Regions from separate parts of the Homo sapiens genome. Here region 2 is linked to region 1. Evidence: promoter capture Hi-C in human tissues and cell types (Jung and others, 2019). All regions are on one chromosome and are shown on one strand. The core of a region is centred on a gene start or on the middle of the fragment in contact, and the rest is flanking DNA. Distances in the headings are between cores, read along the strand shown. Region 1 holds the start of SCAMP2 (secretory carrier membrane protein 2). Region 2 overlaps ARID3B (AT-rich interaction domain 3B).

The links. Contacts are between HindIII fragments. The study calls those that stand out against the background at their distance.
Region 2: a contact is called between a fragment that was not itself captured here and the fragment with the promoter of SCAMP2 in region 1, in 1 of the 25 tissues and cell types used here (aorta).

Annotation. Positions count from the first base shown.
Region 1 is chr15:74,871,140-74,875,828 of GRCh38, forward strand. It overlaps SCAMP2 (secretory carrier membrane protein 2), which reads right to left and starts at 2,226. Exons shown (of 9, transcript NM_005697.5): 1 at 2,060-2,226. The coding sequence starts at 2,116. RefSeq lists an enhancer at 1-409. The HindIII fragment of the contact is 15,220 bases long and covers 1-4,689 here.
Region 2 is chr15:74,566,734-74,571,422 of GRCh38, forward strand. The region is part of intron 2 of ARID3B (AT-rich interaction domain 3B); the gene reads left to right. Among named protein-coding and RNA genes, the nearest start is that of ARID3B, 28 kb to the left of the region's middle. The HindIII fragment of the contact is 4,220 bases long and covers 302-4,521 here.

The DNA.
Region 1 (4,689 bases), core at 976-3,475:
TGAAAGGCAGAAAGGTGTGGGCTTTAAGTAGGAAGACTGTCCTGTGGCTCATGCCTGTAATCATAGCACTTTGAGAGGCTGGGGCCAGAGGATTGCTTGAGACCAGGATTTCGAGACCAGCTTGGGCATCACAGCGAGACCCCTTCTCTACAAAAATTTTTTTTAAAAGGAGTCAGGCCCAGTGGCACATTCTTGTAGTCCCAGCTACTCAGGAGACTGAGGTGGGATTCAAATAATCATTTGAATCCTGGAGGTCAAGGCTGCCATGACCTCCACTGTGCTACAGCCTGGGCGACAGAGTGAGACCCTGCCTTAAAAAAGGAAGAAAGAGGGCTGGGCGCAGTGGTTCATGCCTGTAATCCCAGCACTTTGGGAGGCCGAGGCAGGTGGATCACCTGAGGTCGGGAGTTCGAGACCAGCCTGACCAACGTGGAGAAACCCCGTCTCTACTAAAAATACAAAATTAGCCGGTCGTGGTGGTGCATGCCTGTAATCCTAGCTACTCAGGAGGCTGAGGAAGGAGAATTGCTTGAACCCAGGAGGCTGAGGTTGCAGTGAGCCGAGATCGCGCCACTGCACTCCAGCCTGGGCAACAAGAGCAAAACTCTGTCTCAAAAAAAAGAGGCCAGGTGTGGTGGCTCACCCCTGTAATCCCAGCACTTTGGGAGGCTAAGGTGGGTGGATCACTTCAGGCCAGGAGTTTGAGACCAGTCTGGCCAATAAGGTGAAACCCCGTCTCTACTAAAAATACAAAAATTAGCCGGGTGTGGTGGTGCACACCTGTAATCCCAGTTTCTCGGGAGGCTGAAGCACGAGAATCACTTGAACCCAGGAGGCTGAGGCTGCAGTGAGCCGAGATCGCGCTACTGCACTCCAGCCTGGGCGACAGAGCAAGAATTGTCTCAAAAAACAAAACAAAACAAAACAAAAAAAAAGGAAAAGAAAGAAAGCAGGAAGATTGTTTCTTCCTTGATTGCTGTTCAAAAGGTCAGGCCAGGCGTGGTGGCTCACACCTGTAATCCCAGCACTTTGGAAGGCCGAGGCGGATGGATCACCTGAGGTCAGGAGTTTGAGACCAGCCTGGCCAACACGGTGAAACCCCGTCTCTACTAAAAGTATGAAAATTAGCTGGGTGTGGTGGCATACGCCTGTAGTCCCAGCTACTCAGGAGGCTGAAGCAGGAGAATTGCTTGAACTCGGGAGGCAGAGGTTGCAGTGAGCGGAAATCGTGCCAATGCACTCCAGCCTGGGCGACAAAGCGAGACTCCGTCTCAAAAAAAAAAAAAAAAGTCAGGCCAGCTCACACGTCAGTGCATCTCAACTATGTTGCCACCACACACAGTTCCATCAGACAAACGTTCCCTGTGGGTCCAGAATTTTTCACAGTCCCCCGCACCTCTCCTCTCTCCCTAACCCGGGCTCTCCTATCTGGTCAAAACCCACTCCAAACTAGACCCATGGCCAAAATGTGGAATTCTTATCAAGGCCATTTTTCAACTTGGGCTACCTTCCCGCCCTCTCCCATCTTTCTTTCCCTGACAAATCTCAGGGGCTCTCCTGTACTTTATACACTAGTTTGGCTGGTGGTGGAGCGGTGGCAGGTGTCCTGGGCTTTTCCCACATTTTTCCCCTCCACCAGAGGCTTCACCACCTCCTCATATGTTGCTGTCACCCCCTCTTCTAAAGTGACTCAAGACAGGTGTCTATCCAAGAATGAGGGAATGCGATAGCCACATTTCGCTTCTCCCTGACGCTAGGAGACTTCCGGAAGGGTCCGACCGTACCTGCTCCAGTCCCCTTCCCTAGCACAGCCCAGCCTCCGGGTGCTAGAAGACCCCACTGTCTCCAACACTTCAGCGCCCCGCCTCCTCTGCAGTTCCACCTGCTGCTAGTCGCGCCCCTCACGCGTTACGATAGGCCAGACCTCAAAGCCCGCTCTCCCATTGGGCAGATGACCCGTCCCTCCTACGCCACGTCTCCCGGCTCTAGCGAGAGGCCCGGGCGGCGGCCGTGGGCCCTAGGGAAATCTGAGAGCTGGATGGCGGGAGAGGGGCTCTACCTGGAAGGGGTTTACATCCACTGGGTCCGCGAAGGGGTTGGTGTCGAAAGCCGACATGGTGATCGGGGGCCAGCGGGCGAACTCCGCGAACGCTGCTGCCTCCGGGCACCCAGACCCAGCGGCGCTTCGTGTAGACCCTCCACTTCCGGGAGCGAGGCAGCGGTTCTGGCGCAGGCGCGATGCCCTCCCCCGAGGGCGTGGCCCTATGACGGCACCGGGGTCGCTCCGCCCCCCCCCCCCCCCCCCCCGCCCAGCCCACAATAGTGCGGTGGGTGGGCATTCGGCTTCCGTCCACATCTTCGCTCTGCTGGGGATTCAGGGGTCTTGGCTGCGCGGAGCGTCTACGGAGCCAGAGGCGTGGCCGGAGTCCTTCCCAACTGCCTATCAATCTGACACCTTCCAATTTTATGTTTCTAAAGCAAACTCTCAAAAGTGGGACAGGAAACAGCCCCTTCACTTCTCTGTAGACCAAGTTTGGGAAGAAGTCCAAACTGATCCCTGGGCAAAGGACAGGGGTGACAGGTGAGGCCAGAGGCCTTGGGAGAACTAGGAAAGCGCTTCTTCTGCAGAACGTGCTCGGGGAAAGAGAAGTGCCAGGACCATCCAGCAGTCCTCCACCCGAGCTGAGCCTGCTTCTTCTAGGGCTGCTCGCCCTCTGATGTCGTTTCATCGTTTTAGGGACGAGGGTTCCTGGGCCCATCAGCTTTGGGACCTGAGTTGGGACTTGAACCTGGACATCAAACATTTATGAAGTGACTCACGGAATTCAGCAACACAGCCTCAATCATGGGGGAGGTGGCTGCTTCACTCTCCACAGCTCCGCTTTCCCCCGCCCCCGCCCCCCACAGGGTCTCACTGTCGCCCAGGCTGGAGTGCAGTGGTGCAATCATGGCTCACTGCAGCCTCGAGCTCCTGGGCTCAAGCAATCCTCCCACCTCAGCCTCCTGAGTAGCTGGGACTACAGCTGGTCACCACCATACCCAGCTAATTTATGGATTTTTTGTAGAGATGGGGATCTCACTATATTGCCCAGGCTCGTCTCAAACACCTGGGCTGAAGTGATCCTCCCGCCTTGGCTTCCTAAAATGCTAGGATTATACTCATGAACCACTGTCTGGCCAAATCCACCTTATTTATTTGGATCTGTCTGGTATTATTCATCTCTGCTGTCACCGAATCCCAGCCACTGTCATTTTTACCCTGAACTAATACAGTGCTGTTAATTGGTCTATTGTTCTTCATGTTGTAATCAAAGATATGTTTAAAGGGGGCAAAATTATCACAGAACTTTGTTAAAATTTTTCAATTAATTTCCATAAAGGGCTGGGTGCGTGGCTTATGCCTGTAATCCCAGTACTTTGGGAGGCAGAGGTAGGAGGATCACTTGAAGCCAGGAGTTCGAGACCAGCCTAGGCAACATACCAGGACCCTGGCTCTACAAAAAAAAAAAAAAAAAAAAAAAAATATATATATATATATATATATATATATATATACATATACATATCTCACACACACACGTAATTAGCTAGGCATGGTGGCCTGTGCCTGTACTCCCAGCTACTTGGGAGGCTGAGGCAGGAGGACTGTTTGAGCTCAGGAGGTCAAAGCTGCAGTGAGCCATCTTTGCACCACTACACTCCAGCTGAGTGACAGAGTGAGACCCTGTCTCAGTTAAAAAAAAAAAAAAAAAAATCAGGCCAGGCAAGGTGGCTCATGCCTGTAGTCGCAGCACTTTGGGAAGCCAAGGCAGGCAGATCACCTGAGGTCAAGAGTTCGAGACCAGCCTGGCCAATATGGTGAAACCTCATCTCTACTAAAAATACAAAATTAGCTGGGTGTGGTGGTGCACACCTGTAATCCCAGCTACTTGGGAGGCTGAGGCAGGAGAATCGTTTGAACCTGGGAGGCGGAGGTTGCAGTGAGCTAAGATTGCAACATTGCACTCCAGCCTGGGCAAAAAGAGTGAAACTCTGTCTCAAAAAAAAAAAAAAAAAATCATAAAGGCCCAAATTCTTAGTTTGTCTTCAAGGTCCTAAAGGATCTGCCCCTACGTTTCTCCCCTTCTGACCCCTTCTAGCCCCCAACCCCCACCCACTGTTCCAGCCATGCAAGTTCTTTTCAGTTGCTCAAACCTTCCTTGTGCCCTCCTGTCTCAGGGCCTTTACACATGTGTTCCTTCTACCTGGTATGCACTTAACCCATGCCCCACTATCATCCTCTGGTTAACCTCTCCTTACCCTTTAAATGCAAGTTCAGATGCCTTTCTTCAGGAGTAGCTTCCCTTCACTCTCTTGGTTACATCATCACCTCATACCCAACATAAGCTCTCCTATTGCCCTGTACTTTTCCTTCACAATACCCATTGCAGATTGTAATTAATACTAGTATAGGTGGTTCTTTATGCCTGTATCCTCCGCTAGACTGAAAGCTCCATGAGGGTAGGGCTGAGGTCTGTTTTGCTCACTGTTGTGTTTCTGTCACTAACATAGTATAAAGCACATGATACACATTTATTAATTTATTTTTTGTGGGTTTGGGGTTTTTTTTTTTTCCAGACAAAGTCTCACTCTGTCACCCAGGGTGGAGTACAGTGGCATGATCTCAGCTCAGTGCAATCTCCGCCTTCC
Region 2 (4,689 bases), core at 1,162-3,661, 300 kb before region 1:
ATGGTTCAGATTAATCTAGAAAATAATATAATTTTTAAAATAAAAAAAGAGCATAATTGCATTTTGTAATTGTTTGTCTCTCTCTCTCTCCATTAGACAGTAAGCTCCATGAGGTGATCATCTGTCTTGTTCCTTTTCCTTCAGAACCTTTTACCATAACTGGTAAATTCTAGGTGATCAAGTGTTTGTACATGAATGAATATAATGGAAAAAAAAGGAAAAGTGAAAATCCCCCAGTTCCAATCCGATTAGGTGTCTATGTACATTTGTATGTTTCTGTTATTTTTTTTTTCAACAAAAATGGGCCACTAAAGCAGTCTAAAACATTGATTTAATCATGTGCTTTCCTGTCCAGAAAACATCCACTGCCTCCCCACTGTTCACAGTTCAGAGTTTAAATTTCCTTCTGGTATTCAAGGCATCTCACAGCCCCTTTCAACTTTAACTATTCAGACTTTCTGTCCTTATATCCTCCCTGTCAAAACATGCCTTGTTTATACCCCACTCCATGCTCATTTAGACTGCAAATCTCCCTTCAACCCATTCTTCAAGGCCAGCTTAACCTCCACCTCTAAGCCATCCAGCCTTTTCTTCTACCTCCTGAGTACCTTGGGTTTTCCTATTTGTTGTCTTGCTATTATATGCTATATGTGTTCAGTTTGTTTTTCCAACTTCATGGTAAGACTCCCAGTGGTGGGAACAATTTTTTTTTTTTTTAGTGGTATTCTCAGCAGCTTGCACAATGCTCTACCTGGGGTAGGTTCTCAGGAAATCTGTGTTGAATAAACTTGTCATCAGGTCTTTGCTTCTCAGGACAGAAAGGGCCCCTAGAGACCATCTCATCCACCCTGTCTCATGTTGGATTCCACGCCATGACATGCCATACAGATAGTCATCCAGAGACAGGAAGTTGCCCACCTCCTGGGAAGCTCACTCCATTACCAGGCAGTTCTACTTGTTTTAAAAAGTCCTTCTGTAGACCTGAAATCTTCCTCAGGGTAACTTCTGCCTATCACACTAGTTGTGCCCTCTGGAGCTTTAGAAGAAAGGAGGAAAAAGCCTAGTTTCTCTTCACTCACTACCTTTAGATTTTCAAAGATAGTCTGTTTATTTCCCCTGTGTGCTGTTGAAATGGGTTCCAGGGTTGAGATGCTGGAGAAGCACTATTCTAATTTTGAGTAGCAGTCAGGTCAGACCTTGATTCATTATTTTTGAAGGCCTGTGTGTGCATGTCACAGTGTAAGCTGCCATCTTCCTCTGGTCCATTCAGAGGTGTAGCCCTCTTCTCTTTTTCTCCTCTCCCCTGATCCTCTGTCTTCTGGGGGAAGATGGGCCCATTCTACTGGAATGGTCTATTTTGGAGGGAGGGGTAAAAAGTTAGCAATTCTTATTTCAGTACCGCCAGATAACTCTCCTGGGCAAGCATTGTGTGAGGGCTGCTTTTCGTTTGGCTAAAGTGCCCAGGTGAAGCCATGAGATAAAGCAAAGATAAAAGAGTCTCCCATTGATAGGAGCTGCCCAGTGCCATGACATGGGCATTTCAGGCATCTCTGGACAGAGGATTTTATTCTCACTTCCTTTTCTTCTTTTCTCCCTTCCTGATCTCCTTATCCAGAACACTTCGTGTTATTCTTTCAAACTACAAGTCAGTATGGTGTAACAGCGAGAGCCAGACAGACCTAGGTTTACATCCTGGCACTGTCACTAAGAAGCTCTGAGACCCTGAGCAGGTTATTTGAGCTCTTTGAGCCATTGTTTTCCCATTTCTAAAATAACCACTTCTACATTATAGAATTAAGTGAGAAAATGCTTGTAAGGCTCCTGGTACAATCCTTAGTATGCAGAAGGCACACAAACACTAGCTTCCTGCTACCTTTTCTCTTTCCCCCAACCTTCTTTTCCTGGGGAAAATTAGCTGAATGTAGGTATAGTAGCCAAAGCTAGTCTTGGGTGTGTATTTGGGAGCAAACTATCAGTTTCCTGTGAGCTCCTGGAGAGATCAAAGATGTTAAAAGACAGTTCTCAAGTAGGAGAGGCTGAGAAGGCTGTAAATGGCAGTAAGTGGCCACTCTGGCTACTGTTGACTTCCCACACACGTTTCTGGGCTATATAATACTGCTGCCTGCTGCTGATGGTGTAACAAAGCCTGTTCCCTGGGCAGGTTAAACTTGCATGCAGCAACCCTTCAACTGAAATGCTTTCCTCATCAACCTCTTTTGATCCCTAAAATGTTGAGCTGTCTCTTTTTGGGTTTGTTTTCCCCACCCTCCATCTGCCTCTGCTGTTCCCTGCTTTCTTCCACCATTACAGTCTCAGTCAGCCACAGTCAGCATCCGAGAAAAAATTATTTCTGGGCTGATAATTTTCTAGTAGTCACACCCATACTCTATTGATAGGCCAAGAAACCTGCTGCACACAAACTTGAATTGCATAAGTGAGCCATGTTTTACAGCAGTTGATCAGAGTTAAGAACCAAGAAAATAACTGGTTAAGCCTGTAACCCACCCAATGAAAGGGGGAGGGGAAGACGGAGGAGCTGTGGGGTTGGAGGTCCCACAGGGGAGCCCATCTCTGTCTTTTAGCAGATATATCGGTGCTCCCTCTTCATTATTATTATTATTATTATTATTTTTGGTAGAGATGGAGTCTCCCTGACCAACCTGGCCAACATGGCAAAACCCCATCTCTACCAAAAATACAAAAATTAGCCGGGCGTACTGGCATGTACCTGTAGTCCCAGCTACTCAGGAGGCTGACGCAGGAGAATCGCCTGAACCTAAGAGGCAGAGGTCGCAGTGACCTGAGATCATGCCACTGCACTCCAGCCTACAAGAAAGAGACAGTCTTCCTATATTGCTCAGGTTGGTCTTAAAGTGCTGGAATTACAGGCAAGAGCCACCATGCCCAGCTGGTCAGTGCTTTCTATGTGCTCAGGGCTGGAGATACCCAGACGAGTAACTGAACACAGGTGGTAGAGCCCAGAGGAGAAAGGTGTTGAATCTGCCTGGTGGGCAGAGGCAGGAGGCTCTGCTAGACTGCGAAAGGCAGGCAGGGCTCAGGAATTACTCTCACCTCAGCCAGAAGATCCTGTGAAGTGGGACCAAAGTTTAACTGCCTTAAGACAAAGAATGGAATGCACGTTGGACATTTTTACATCAGCCCCAGCTGAATTGACCATCCTTGCCTTGGAGCTGGACGAAAGAAAATACCTCCTCTCTGGGCAACTATTTTCCCCACATTTTCTTTAAATAGAGTAACTGACAGTTCCTATCTGTGGAATGGGTCCAACAGTGGGATTACTCAAAGAGTTCGGTGTCTCATTTCTTTCCTGCTCTGGCAAGTCTTCCTGACCTCTGTGGTCACCAAGCTGGAGGCATTTTAAGCTAAGTGGGTCACACTTAGTGGGCTCTGTGCAAGGCCTCACCATCTGACTGTCAGATTCTCTTGCAGGTTGGACAAAGCTGGAGAAGCCAAGAGGACCCTACCAGCCCCAGCCCCCATCCTGCCAAGGCATTCTCCATGTGTGGAGCCGAGCGCTCACACTTGGGTGTTTATTTTCACACATAGTCACATAGTGGTCACACTAGCGTGCTTGTTTTCACACTGCTGTCCTTCTGTGGAAAGCCCTGTCTGACTTTTTAGGTTGTGGATTCCACCCTTTCCACCCAACTGAGTGTTAAATAGTTTTTGAGTGAGCATTCAGAGTGCTTGGAAGTTACTATAATTAGCAAAAAAAAAAAAAAAAAAAAAAAAAAAAAAAAAAAGTGTTTTCATCTCTCTTGGTGACTGATAGAGAAAGAGTCCTTCTGTGAATGAGATCAGCTTCAGAGCTCTCGCCAGAGAATTGGGAATTGAGCTGCCGCAGTAAACAGCTGACATAACAGAAGCGGCAATGATCCCCCATTAAATGTCTTTCAACTGATAGGGGCTCCTGGGATAATTGACTTTCCAGCAGGAATTACTGGCTCAAACAAAATCACTGGGCATTAGGGCAACCTACTGCATCCTTTGAAAGGGGGAATGTAACTCTGTCTGGTTTTGCTGACCTGACAGGCATAATTCATCTTGATTATTCATTGTGCTAGTTGCCACCAGATGACACCAGATTTCTGGTGACTGTAATTACAATGTGGGATGAGCTTTAACTTTTTTTTCTTTTTAAACAATGTTCCTCCCACTTGGCTATTGGCTCCCCTGTGCTGAAGGTGCTGTAGGAAGGGATCCAACAATGTCTGCCTTGAGAGATGATGAGTGCATGGTCAGATAGCATTTACCAAGCACTTCCATACACACATCTTTTACTAGATAAGCAGGGAAACAATTTGATGTAGTCTGTTTCATTTTAACTGACAGAGTGTCACTTCTTAGTTATACTTATGTCACTGTGTGCCAGATTGCTGCTATCGGAAAGTGGGTCTTCATCTCAGAGCCCACTGTGAATAGGGGAAGCAAAGTTGGCCCCAAAATATAACTGCATAATGCCTTCTGCTTTCAGACAAGCTTTATTAAAGGGGCAGGTGGAAGAGAGTGGAATTCAACCAAGCTTTTATTTCGTTGACATGGTTTTAGAAGAAGATTCCTGAGTAGTCCAAAGAATGTTCTCCCAAGAAACCACTGCTCCCCAGCCCCACATGTCCTTTCCTCACCACATACACACCCCAGCCAGCTGGGTGGCATGGTACGCATGCA